Linked DNA regions of Homo sapiens: all the other regions are linked to region 1. Evidence: promoter capture Hi-C in 16 types of primary human blood cells and fetal thymus (Javierre and others, 2016). All regions are on one chromosome and are shown on one strand. Each heading gives the region's core, a stretch centred on a gene start or on the middle of the fragment in contact. The rest is flanking DNA. Distances are from core to core; before and after follow the strand shown. Region 1 holds the start of MRPL33 (mitochondrial ribosomal protein L33). Region 2 overlaps BABAM2 (BRISC and BRCA1 A complex member 2). Region 3 overlaps BABAM2 (BRISC and BRCA1 A complex member 2).

Region 1 (4,092 bases), core at 987-3,486:
CACCTCCCAGGTTCACGCCATTCTCCTGCCTCAGCCTCCCGAGTAGCTGGGACTACAGGCACCCGCCACCACACCCGGCTAATTTTTTTTTTTTTTTTTTTTTGTATTTTTAGTAGAGATGGGGTTTCACCATGTTAGCCAGGATGGTCTCAATTTCCTGACCTCGTGATTCACCTGCCTCGGCCTCCCAAAGTGCTGGGATTACAGGTGTGAGCCACCGCGCCCGGCCAGTTGTGTTATTTTTTAGTAGAGATGGGGTTTCGCCATGTTGGCCAGGCTGGTCTCAAACTCCTGACCTCAGGTGATCTACCCTCGTCGGCCTCCCAAAATACTGGGATTGCAGGAGTGACCCACTGCACCTGGCTCTTTTCAAAAGCAAGCTTATACATTCTCCTGGATCCTGAAACTATTGACAATACTTAAAGTTAGTTTTTTTTTTTTTGCTATTTAAACATAAATATTGACATTTGTATGGTGCCTCTCACCTCAGATTCATTCATTCAATAGATATTTAATAGATGTAGCAGGCATTGTTGTAGGAACCAGGGATACAGCAGTGAGGGAATAAGCTGAAGTTCTTTTTTTTAATTAAAAAAATTTTTTTAGAGACAGGGTTTTGCTGTTGCCCAGCATTCTGGTAGCCAAAGACAATAGGGAAATCAACAAGTACACAAGTAATACTATTAATGGCAATAAGTGCTGTAGGAAAACATAAAGAAGAGTAAGGAGAATAGAGTTGGGGGCAGGGGCATGGAGTTTAAGAACTGCTATTTGGCTGGGCTAAAGTTAAAGTGACTTTCTAAGGGACAGAACAAGGACTAGAAATCATGTTCCTTGGCTTCCAGTCTTGTGTTTTCTTATAAATCCTCTAAAGGAAATATAAGAAACCTTATCCTCTTGAACATCTGAAGCTCTTTTTTGCCAATGCAAGGTAAGGAAGGATTTCGGCACCTGGAAGGTACTCAGTAGCTGGAGTCCGGTTATGGGAAGATAAATATCAAGAATGATTAGAAGGAAAAAAAGTATTATAGGTACTAAGGAGAAGGACGGTCTTAATTTAAAAAATTGAATTGTATTGTATGGAGAGCTGATTTTTTTCCTCCTCATCTTCTTTGTGATGGCACAGAGAGCTGAATTTTCTTTAAAACAGTTTTATTACTTTTTTTTTTTTTTTTTTTTGAGACGGAGTCTCACTTTGTCGCCCAGGCTGGAGTGCAGTGGCGCTATCTCGGCTCACTGCAACCTCCGCCTCCCGGGTTCAGCTAATTTTTGTATTTTTAGTACAGGCGGGATTCCGCGACGTTGGCCAGGCTGGTCTCAAACTCGTGACCTCAAGTGATCTGCCTGCCTCAGCCTCCCAAAGGGCTGGGATTACAGGCGTGAGCCATGCGATTAAATCTTATTTCACATCTGTAAGACTTCATATGTAGATACAAATCACGGATTAGGAAAAAAATCCAAAAGTCCTGATTATTAGTTGCGAAATGAGGTTACTGACGAGGTCCTTGGTGTTAGAGGAGCCCAGGTTCCTTACAGAGCCATGAAAAATTAATGATTGCAAACTGGTAGGTCCCAATGTCTACTGGGAAAGGCATGAGTCTTTGGAGTCAGATAAAATCTAGGTTTAAATTCTTACTCTGCCACCTGGTAGTTCTGTGATATTAGGCACGTGATGTGAATGCTCTCAATCTGTTATTTGGCTTCTATGTCAGGAACTGTGCTAGGTGTTTGGATACAGAAGTTTGAGATGCAAAGGGTCCTGCCCTCCTAGAGATTGGGATAACTAAGGAAAGGTGGGGTTCTTAATGCCGAAGGGACTCAGAAGAGTGAGAGTAAGGCTTAACCAGGCGGAGAGGGAGTTGGGTCGGGGGAGGCAACATTTTAAGAAAATATGCGAGGGGCTGATACGCTGGAGCGGCCGAAGTACAATACACAGTTGTTCTTGTGGGTCTAATGCAGGTGGTTGCGATTATTTCGTGAAACAAATATGGAAAGCACCTAACGCTGAAAGCACTTGACCCAGAAATAGGAGTCAGGGCCGGGGCGCGAACCCTGAGCTGTAAATCCCTTTCCAGAATGATGAGGATTCCAACCTCCAGCACGACAAAAGCAAAACACACTCGCTCTGAGAAACCGAGGAACGAGCCAGACGACTGGAGGCAGGTTCCAGGCGGGGGGCGTGGCCTCGGGCGACTGCCGGATGTCCTCTTCCAGAACCGGGCCGTGCCCCGGAAGCAGTTGTTGTTGGTTGGGGGCCTTTTGGCCGGTGACGGAGACTGCCCAGGTGTGGTCACCATGTTCCTCTCCGCGGTCTTCTGTAAGTGGGGCTGGAGACGCCGGTAGGGGTTACGGCGAGGGTTAGGGGGCCGTGACAGGCAGGGCCCCGGAATGATGCGGGGAAGGATGTGCGAACAGGACGGGAAGCTGCAGCTGCGTACTTTTCCAGGCCTTCAGGACCACAGCGTCCGGCATGCCCCGCGGCGCGCCTCCCTGCGCGGACCTGTGGGTGCCTGAGAAGGGGTCTGCGGTGTCTGGATTCAATTGCCGTCCTCACGGACCGTTGAGTCTGGCTGTGGGGCGTTTTTCTCCAGCCCGTGTTAGGAGAATCTTTGTCCGAAGGACCTCAGAATTTGCAGCCCACCTATTTCGAACTCTAAAAATAAGGAAACCGCTCCCGAGAGGGGCAATGAATTGCCTGAGTAATGCGGCAGGGCAGTTAAAGAAGTCCTCGGGCTCCCGAGTCAGTGCTCTTCTTTACCCTTGGCTGACTTCCCAGTTAGATTTAGTATCTGGTTTTCACCACATGTGATGGTTGTTGTAATTTGCAAAGGTTAAACTTGTCAAACAAGAAGCTTGCTGCAGCGCGAATACTTGCACCTTAGAAGAGGGAAAAAATGGAGCAGGTATTACTTTAGAAAGATTTAAAAGGTAGCCAGTCCAACAGTCATGAAATTATGCAAAATATTAAATCTAGAATTGTGTTGGTCTGATTGGATCTTTTAACCTTCCTTCTATAAAATCCTAAGGGGATCCCTAATAGATAGGGAATAGTTACTTGAGTGACACCTCATGGCATATTTCATAAGTTAAATATTTTTGGTTATTACTGATATTTATATGAACTTTGCATAAGAAAGAGAATACATTTATATTTTTATTTTCTTTTCCAACCCTTCCTGTCTACAAAAAAGTTGCCAAGAGCAAGTCAAAGTAAGTAAAGATTTTTCCTTTTTTAAACGTCACTTGTTTATGTTGGATTTGTTAGTCTAGCTGCTCCCAGTACATCCTTATATGAAATTAAGCATTGGGCCTTGATTTCCTAAGAGTTGGTTTGTGGATTACTTAGTTGATTATTTTTTCTTTATGAACTCTTTCAAAAATATTTTCCCTCCTGCTGAACTGAGCTACTTCTGTGAGCATTGAAATACTTGAAGGAACCTTTGCTGCTTTTCTAGTCCCAGGATTTGTGAGCTCACTGTCTGTTTCTAAACAAACCATTGGGCTGTGCTGTATTTGGACTACCACCATATTTCCATTTCCTCAAATCGAGGACCAGGGGCCATGTGTCTGGAGCTCACTACGGGAATCCAGAAGAACAAACTCTGCTTTGATTAAATCATAGTCTGTTTTAATGAGTTTTGTAATCCTTTGCATTCATGGTATAAGCATTTCAAAAATAGCCAAGATTAAAGATTCCATGCTGTACCAGAGAGACTAGAACTACCAAACTTGTATTTCAAAATAAATGTTGTAGACAATAACAGAAGATTTTGTGGTAAAAATAGGGAGGTTCTAAAGCAGCTTTTCCTTGCAACTCAAGACATTGAAAATCCTTAAAGCTAGTCTTTTGGATTAACGTTAATGAAAAACATGTATGTTAGCGCTTTCCCTCCCAGTATCTTTCAGTGATTCACGTAGCTTTCGCCACAGTCCAGTTATTTATGTCAAAATTCCCTGCCCCAGGGATCTATAGGAATCTCTTGCCTTTGGTTTCTGTAGAGGTATATTCTGACTCTCGTTCTTTCTACCCTTGTGACATATTTCATATATGTCTTGCCTGATTGACCTCATGTACCAACTCACCTTCCATAC
Region 2 (4,092 bases), core at 472-2,971, 500 kb after region 1:
TAATTAGGCCTTTCAGAGTTTCTTTATGTAAATAAAATAAATATAAGTACATATTCTTAGTTTTCTTCTTTTTTTTTTTGAGATGGGGACTCACTATGTTGCCCAGGCTGGAGAGCAATGGCACTATCTTGGCCCACTGCAACCTCCACCTCCTGGATTCAAGTGATTCTCATGCCTCAGCCTCCCAAGTAACTGGGATTACAGGCACACACCACCACGCTCGGCTAAGTTTTTTGTATTTTTAGTAGAGACGAGGTTTCGCCATGTTGGCCAGGCTGGCCTTAAACACCTGACCTCAGATTATCTGCTTGCCTGGACCTCCCAAAGTGTTGGGATTACAAGCATGAGCCACCGTACCCAGCCACCTTTCTTCTTTCTGACTTGAAAAGTAGCATATTACATACCTTATCTGCACCTGCAGCAAGTGCTTTTGATATTTTATTGCCATGGATGTGCAGTTCTTAACCTCCCCTCCATCTTGGTCACTGAGTTAATTCAAAGGCTCAGCACCTGCAGCTTTGCAGCTCTTCTTCATTCATAAATGTAAGTGGATTGATAGTATCCTCTGTCATTCCCAAAGTGTTATTAGAAATGTCTCTTCATTGTTAGTGATAAGATCTTATAGTATTTCAAAGTACTTTCCCATTTATCATCTTATTTAATTTGATCTTCCCCAAGCCCCATGAAGTTGGTAGGACAGGTATTGTCCTTGTTTTTAAGGTAAGGAAACCAAGGGTAAAAGGTTGGCATTGTCACACGCCTGGGTCTAAGGACTGTCCTCTGTACCTGATGCCACTTTATTTCTGTTTTCCAAAAACAAAGGAGGAACTGCCTTCCATAGTTTTGTTAATACTTCTCCATATTTACCATATAAGTCTTTCATGGTTGTTAAAACTTTTTATTTTGGGATAATTGTGGATTCACATGTAGGTGTAAGAAATAGTACAAAAGGCTGGGTGCAGTGGCTCACGCCTGTAATCCCAGCATTTTGGGAGGCCAAGGCGTGTGGATCAGCTGAGATCAGGAATTCGAGACCAGCCTGATCAACATGGTGAAAGCCCATTTCTACTAAAAATACAAAAATTAGCTGGGTGTGGTGACAGGCACCTGTAATCCCAGCTACGTGGGAGGCTAAGGCAGGAGAATTGCTTGAACCTGGGAGGCGGAGGTTGCAGTGAGCCTAGATTGTGCCACTGCACTCCAGCCTGGGTGACAAGAGTGAAACTCTGTCTCCAAAAAAGAAGGAAAGAAAGAAAGAAAGAATACAAAGATCCTATGTACCCTTCACCCACTTTCTCCCAGTGGTATCATCTTGAACAACTGTAGTACAATATCAACAACCAGGATAGGATACTGACATTGACACAATCAAGAGGCAGAACAACTCCACTAGGAGGATCCCTCCTGGTGCTTTTATCTCCACAAGTCCCTCACTCCCCCATAAATGCAGGAGGCAGAGCCCACCCCCAGGCCCAGCTGTTGCTTCATTTACACTGACTAGACACACACACACATACACACACACACACACACACACACACACTTTTAATGTATTTTGAAATGGTGGTTTTATCAGGAAAGTCTAACACCTATAACAAGCAACCCCCAGTCTCTGTGGCTAACACAGTAACGTTTTATTTCCTGTGCTGTCAATTCAGTGGTGGTCATTATGGATGAAAGGAGGACTCTGCTTCTTGCAGAAGTTCTGGGACCAGCTTCTCTGTCTAATGGCTCCACCATTCCCTATGGCCTCAGCATCCTCCACTGCACCCTCTTCTTCAGGCCAGCATGGCAGGGGCCATAGGGGTCAGGCCCAGAAGTGGCATTTATCTCTCCAACACACAGAATTTAGTCATTTGGCTCCACCTCACTGCAGGAAGGCTGGGAAATTTGTTTGGGTATGCCTAGGAGAAAAAGGAAAAATTGTTGATGAGCACATGTTCAAGAATAATCATGGCAGTATCTCTAGTTGTAGTTGAAACTAGAAGAAACCCAAAAACCCAAATGTTCACTGACAGAGGAATGGATAAATAGTGTCAAATTTACATTATTATACAACTGTGAAAATGACAAACTGTATCTATACACAATAAAGACGAAATCTTAGAACCCTAATATTGACTGAAAAAAGCAAGTTCCAGGAGACACACGATAGAATTTTTATATAAAGAGCTCAAAAACAAGCAAAACCAGACAATCTGTCCATTTATTTATTAGGGATATAGAAATCTGCATTAAAGCCATGTTTCTAAAAAAGTGAAGGTGTCCTGGCCGCAGTGGCACATGCCTATAGTCCCAGCTACTTGGGGAGGCTGAGACAAGAGGATACGTTGAGCCTAGAAATTGAGTCTAGCCTATCAAGACTCAGTCTCTAAAAAACAACAAACAAAAATGAAGGAGTGATAAACAGGCATTTTAGGACAGTGATTATCTCTGGAGAGAGAGGCAGGGAGACAATGGAGAGAGAGGGATGGCAAGGTCGCTTCAGCTTGTGGCTCATGTCTTTGTTCTGAGAGGGAGCATAGATTCAGTCATGTTCTGTTTTTCTGCTGTGTTTCAGACCTTAAGTGTGTATTACAAGTATTCTTTGGTATGTGTCACATATTGCATAATTTTTAAAAGAATGAACCAAAACATTATAATTAGTAGTAATAAAGATAAGTCTTTATTAGTTCTAAGAATGTGACAAGGAACAGATCTATTGCTTGAGAAGGTAATTCTGATAAACTGGTTTTCCTAATGCTGTGGAGTTGACCCACACTGGGGTGGCTCTACCCAAGATCACAAATGCCGGCCCCCGTTGTTTGGATCAGCCCTCGTGCCCTGGTCTTGATCTTTTCTGGTCCTCCTGCAGTTTCCTTTAATTGCCTTGAAGTTTCCAAAAGTTCGTTACACTCATCCATTGACTCAATCATCTTCAGAATCCTAGTATGAAGTCTTGAGGTCCACTGTAGAGATTATTTGTCTGCGGAGAAATCCTACAAAGCTGTTATTGTGATCCTTGCCAATGAAAGGCAAGTTTTACATATCTAAATTTACTAAACACTATCCCTTTAAAAGTATCTCATACCTACAAAGATATAACCAAATCTAACATTTCAGCAAACAAAAGCTGAGGCTTGTAACCAACAGAAGTAATTGCTATACAGTTATCACGAGAAGTACATGCCCAGCTTCCAGGGTAACCACATTACTTAATAAACATATCAAATCTCTTTTATCTTAAAAGACCCAAAGAAACCACCCCAGTAATGGTTGCCAGCCCTGATCCATCCCTTATCTGTTGCTGGCAAACTGTCTGTAAATAGTCAATCCAGAACACTCCTCTAGGTTGTTTTTTCTTGCTCTCTCCCTTCCCCCTTCTCCTCTCCATCTTGGAAGTATTCGCCTTTGCAGTCTCCACCCTCTGTAGAGACTCTGTGCTCTCTGCACCCGGAATGAGTCAGCATGTGGATACATACCTGCATTTCTAGGGAAATGGACTGGGGTTATCAGAAAACTCAATCTGTCCAACCATGGATAAAAATCAAGACATTTTATTGCAACCCAGATAGTTAGCTCAGCAGCTGCACTCTGGAACATACAGTACAACTCCTTTGGGAAATACCTAGTTGGGAGTGACTTTCGGTCTCTTGGGTAAAATGTTCCCTTCTCATACAGCAAACCTTTTGTAAAAGGGAAACAGACTCCATCCAAACTGGGTGGTAACTGGAGATAAAGGCAGGCCACTCCTGTTTGAATGTTTGTCATTTTGATGAGGATTTTGTTTAACAAGGTTTCTACCTTATCTGTCTTCTTTCAGATTTACAGCTCCAGAGCCCATAAAAGGGAGGCCACAGATGTGAACATGGGCTGTGGAAAGATTAGAAACAAACTGAGGCTATTCAATAGAAATAATCTTGAGATATTTTGGATTTTTTCTTGTCATTTTTTTTTTTTTACATTGACAATGACATCAGGAGCTCTAATAGTATTTGACTGATAGTACTTAGTAGTACTTGGCCAACTATACATATTAGGAAAATGCTGGAAGGCATATTGTCTTGACATTATTTATAGCCTGTGTTCTATTTCCTTTACTCTATGCTGAGA
Region 3 (4,092 bases), core at 911-3,410, 270 kb after region 1:
ACTGTAATAAATAATCTTGTATATATGTCACTTTGCATGTGTTCAGGTATGTCTGTAAGATAAATAATTAGAAGTGGAATTACTGGATCAAAGATTATGTGTTCATAATTTTATTGTCAAAGTAACTTCCATAAAGTTTATACAGGTTTATTAAACCAGCAGCAATATATGAAAGTGGTTGTTTCTCCACAGTATTGTCAACAGTATATTAAAATATTTGTAGATTTCTGTCAAGTTGCACTTTTTGTCACGGCCAAGTAGCTCCTGTTGACCTAACTCTTCACAACAGCTCAGAGCTCCGAGCAAAATATAGAGCCATTTGCCTGAAAACACTAGAGAGTGATCAAAGCAGGCAGATACTGGATGGACATTGATACTTGGAAGAAGGGAAAGCAGAGCCTTGATATTATGGGATAGTATCAAAATGTTTAATATATAAGAAACGGGAGTCCTAGAAGGGGAAGAGAAAGGGAGAAGGCAGGAAAGTATTTGACAAAATAACACATTTCCAAATATGGTGAAAGACAGAAATTTACAGATTCAAGAAGCTCAACAAACCCCATCTGGGATAAATGCAAGGAAAAACTAAAACAAAACATTATAGTAAAAATACTGATAACCAGACATAAAGAGAAAATCTTAAGTAACCAGAGAAAAATTATGCTTTATGTACAGTTCCCTCTCACTGCTTTTCTTCTTTAGACTTTTCCTGCCTGGTGTTATTTATTTTTCCATGTGGTCTTTTGACTTAGCTTTAAAAAAAATTCCCTCCAAGTAATGAGCCCCCAACCCTAGATGGTTCATTTCCTCCTGGAATTTGCTCTCAGAGCACTGTGCCCTTTGATAGCATTTATCACAGGTTATAATTTATTTTATTTATTTTGTATTTTACATTCAGGGGGTACACGTACAGGGTTATTACAGGGTTATGTTGTGTGATGTTAAGGTTTTGGTTTCTATTGATCTTGCCACCCAAATAGTGAACATAGTACTCAATAGGAAGTTTTTCAGCTCTTGTCCCCTTTCTTTCCTCCCTCCTTCTGGAGTCCCCAGTGTCTGTTGTTCCCATCGTTATGTGTGTGTGTGCTCAGTGTTTAGCTCCCACTTATAAGTGAGAACATGTGGTATATGGTTTTCTGTTTCTGCATTAATTTCCTTAGGATAATGACCTCCAGCTATATCCATGTTGCTGCAGAGGACATGATTTTGTTCTTTTTTAATTTCTGTGTTGTATTCTATGGTGTATATGTACCACATTTTAAAAATCCAGTTCACCACTGATGGGCACCTAGGTAGTTTCCATGTCTTTGTTATTGTGAACAGTGCTATAATAAACATATAAGTGGAGGTGTCCTTTTGGTAGAGCGATTTATTTTCCTTTGGGTATGTACCCAGTAGTAGAATTGCTGGATCAAATGGTAGTTCTATTTTTAGTTCTATGAGAAATCTTCAAACTGCTTTCCACCTGCCTGAACTAACTTACATTCCCACTAACAGTGTTTAAGTATTCCCATTTCTCCACACAGGTTATAATTGATAGGAGTGATTATTTTGATTGATATCTGACTCACCTACTAGACTATAAGCTCCAAAAGGGCAGTGGTCCTGTCTCTTTTACTCACTAGATGCCTAGCGGAGTGCCTGACACATTTTAGGCCCTTAATACATACTCGTGAATGGATGAATACACCTTGAGTCTTGAGGTTGAGCTCTGTGACTCTTTGTTACTCTCTCAATAACTGTAGGCAAGTTTCTTGACTGTTCTAGGCCTCAGTTTTTTCATTTCTAAGTATAAATGAATTGTATCTACCAAGCAGGGTTTTGGGATAATTAAATGACATATCTTAGAAAACATTTTGTAAATTATAAAATTCTAGTTAGACTAACTTTGACTTTCCTTTTCACATTTAGTGTATATGTATGCATGTGCTAAGGAACAATCTCCAGATTTAGGCTCACTGGTTTTCAGAGTCCATTTGAAGAATCAGCCTTACCAGTTTGTCACCCAGCTAAAGTTATAATCACTTGAGTGTTTCTTAGCTTTTAGCTGTCTAAGTGGTAAGAGCAGTCAATTTCAGATAAAAGCTTGTTTGTTGACAAGGGAAGTGCCTCTAAGAAAGGAAGTAAAATTTTCCCTTACAGAACAACCTGAACTTGGACTCCATTCTGCACAAAATGTCTACCTGTCACTTCTAAAAGGAGAAGAAAACTGTCACAGCTGTGATTACCAAAAGCAAAGCTTAGACTTAATAAATTGCCAAAACTCAGAGTCTTGTTAGTTTAAGTTGCTTGCCAACGTACTATAACTTGAAAAAAGGAAAGATGCACATATTTATTGCTAATGCTGGGGAAATTGCCATTAAGACAGTTGGCAGAAAGGCTGACATTTTAACAGTCATAGGTTAGATAATTTTCTGCATCTATCCAAGAGAAGATTTTGACCAAGGACTGACAAAAAAAAAAAATCAAATTATTCTGTTCACTTGGCGGCATCTAAATGTCTCATTTTCAGCTTACAGGAAAGATTGCTGTGAAAGCAATCTTTGACATTACAACTGAGTGACCATAAATTGCTTGAATAGCTGTTGGAAATTCAAATATAAAACCACATGAAAAGTCATTATCTGAGGTAGAACAAGGATTTTTCACTTGTTTTGCTCTTCATTTACAGTTTATAACTTAATTTTACATTAAGATTGTTTTAAAATTATCATGTACTCAGTTTCACAGAAGATGATTAGCTTATAGGTCATAAGGAAAATCAGTGCCAGAATGAAAAACTGAATTCTTTTTTTTTTTTTTTTTTTTTTTTGAGACGGAGTCTCGCTCTGTCGCCCAGGCTGGAGTGCAGTGGCGGGATCTCGGCTCACTGCAAGCTCCGCCTCCCGGGTTCACGCCATTCTCCTGCCTCAGCCTCCAGAGTAGCTGGGACTACAGGCGCCCGCCACTACGCCCGGCTAATTTTTTGTATTTTTAGTAGAGACGGGGTTTCACCGTTTTAGCCGGGATGGTCTCGATCTCCTGACCTCGTGATCCGCCCGCCTCGGCCTCCCAAAGTGCTGGGATTACAGGCGTGAGCCACCGCGCCCGGCCGAAAAACTGAATTCTTGAGTCTTAGCGTTCAACATTTCCAGTGCTGTCAGAAACAAGTGCTGAGTTTTCTTTGTTCTTCCAATGGCAAAATAAGGAATGTATGATAGGCTTGAAAGTTGGCAATCATAAAGTGCTTTTTATGGTTTCCCAAATTCCCTTCATAGTATTGTTTCTTTTATTATGAATTTAGTTGTGTAAATCAGCCTGTTGCTGATAAACAAAAATTTATATTAGTCCTGGGACCAACATTTCTTTCAGTATGACATTAGTTGTGTAAATCAGCCTGTTGCCAATAAACACAAATTTGTATTAATTCTAGGATCAACATTTTGAGAAGGAATAAAGTAGGGATCATCTAAGAGTTTTTAAAAGAATGTGGGTCTAAAATAGCTGGTAGAATAAAAATACATTGTACAAGCTAAAATAGGGCAAAAGAGCTAAAATGCAGTGCATGGACTAAAATAACTAGCAGTTCAAATGAGTCCAAGTGCTAAATATGTAATTATCTTTCCTATTACCTTATATGTACAAGAGTTATTTTAACTTTTAAAATCCTACATTTCACTTTTGTTGTTGTTTATTTATGTATGTATATGTAAAATCAGGCATATATATATACACACCTCTGAGTTTAAAAGTTTTCAAATTGCATTTTAATTTACAGGTTACAGGTTGACATTTTACACTAGTAGGCAGAAATGGTTATTTATTTATTGGTAGGTGGTTTGCTTTATAAACTGAAAATGAAGAAATGACTTGAGTTTGGTTTATCATCATCCCTCCAATTCCCTTCCCCAAACTCTTTGAATCTCATGGTACTTTTTAAAAGCTTGCCTCAACATCCCCAGGAATAACTTCACAGTTGTTCCACATAGATGTAGTAGCCATTTTCTTATTCACTAATTTTATGAATGATTGTTGCACATCCTCCAGGGGTTTAGAAATTGCTCATACCATGGAGGAGAGAGTTTCTGGGTGACTTTGATCCGTGTTAGTGCT

Evidence for each region. The method cuts DNA at HindIII sites, captures the fragments that hold promoters and counts their contacts. A CHiCAGO score of 5 or more calls a contact.
Region 2: a contact is called between a fragment that was not itself captured here and the fragment with the promoter of MRPL33 in region 1, in 1 of 17 cell types (M1 macrophages). The highest score is 5.4, in M1 macrophages.
Region 3: a contact is called between a fragment that was not itself captured here and the fragment with the promoter of MRPL33 in region 1, in 1 of 17 cell types (activated CD4 T cells). The highest score is 5.4, in activated CD4 T cells.

What each region holds. Positions count from the first base shown.
Region 1 is chr2:27,769,483-27,773,574 of GRCh38, forward strand. It overlaps MRPL33 (mitochondrial ribosomal protein L33), which reads left to right and starts at 2,237. Exons shown (of 4, transcript NM_004891.4): 1 at 2,237-2,317; 2 at 3,192-3,210. The coding sequence starts at 2,296. RefSeq lists enhancers at 1,879-1,998, 2,232-3,048, 2,289-2,418. The HindIII fragment of the contact is 2,472 bases long and covers 379-2,850 here.
Region 2 is chr2:28,265,924-28,270,015 of GRCh38, forward strand. The region is part of intron 10 of BABAM2 (BRISC and BRCA1 A complex member 2); the gene reads left to right. It overlaps LOC124907745 (a long non-coding RNA gene), which reads right to left. Exons shown (of 2, transcript XR_007086254.1): 1 at 3,462-4,092; 2 at 2,643-2,978. Among named protein-coding and RNA genes, the nearest start is that of BABAM2-AS2, 42 kb to the right of the region's middle. The HindIII fragment of the contact is 8,369 bases long and covers 1-4,092 here.
Region 3 is chr2:28,037,507-28,041,598 of GRCh38, forward strand. The region is part of intron 5 of BABAM2 (BRISC and BRCA1 A complex member 2); the gene reads left to right. Among named protein-coding and RNA genes, the nearest start is that of MIR4263, 43 kb to the left of the region's middle. The HindIII fragment of the contact is 154 bases long and covers 2,084-2,237 here.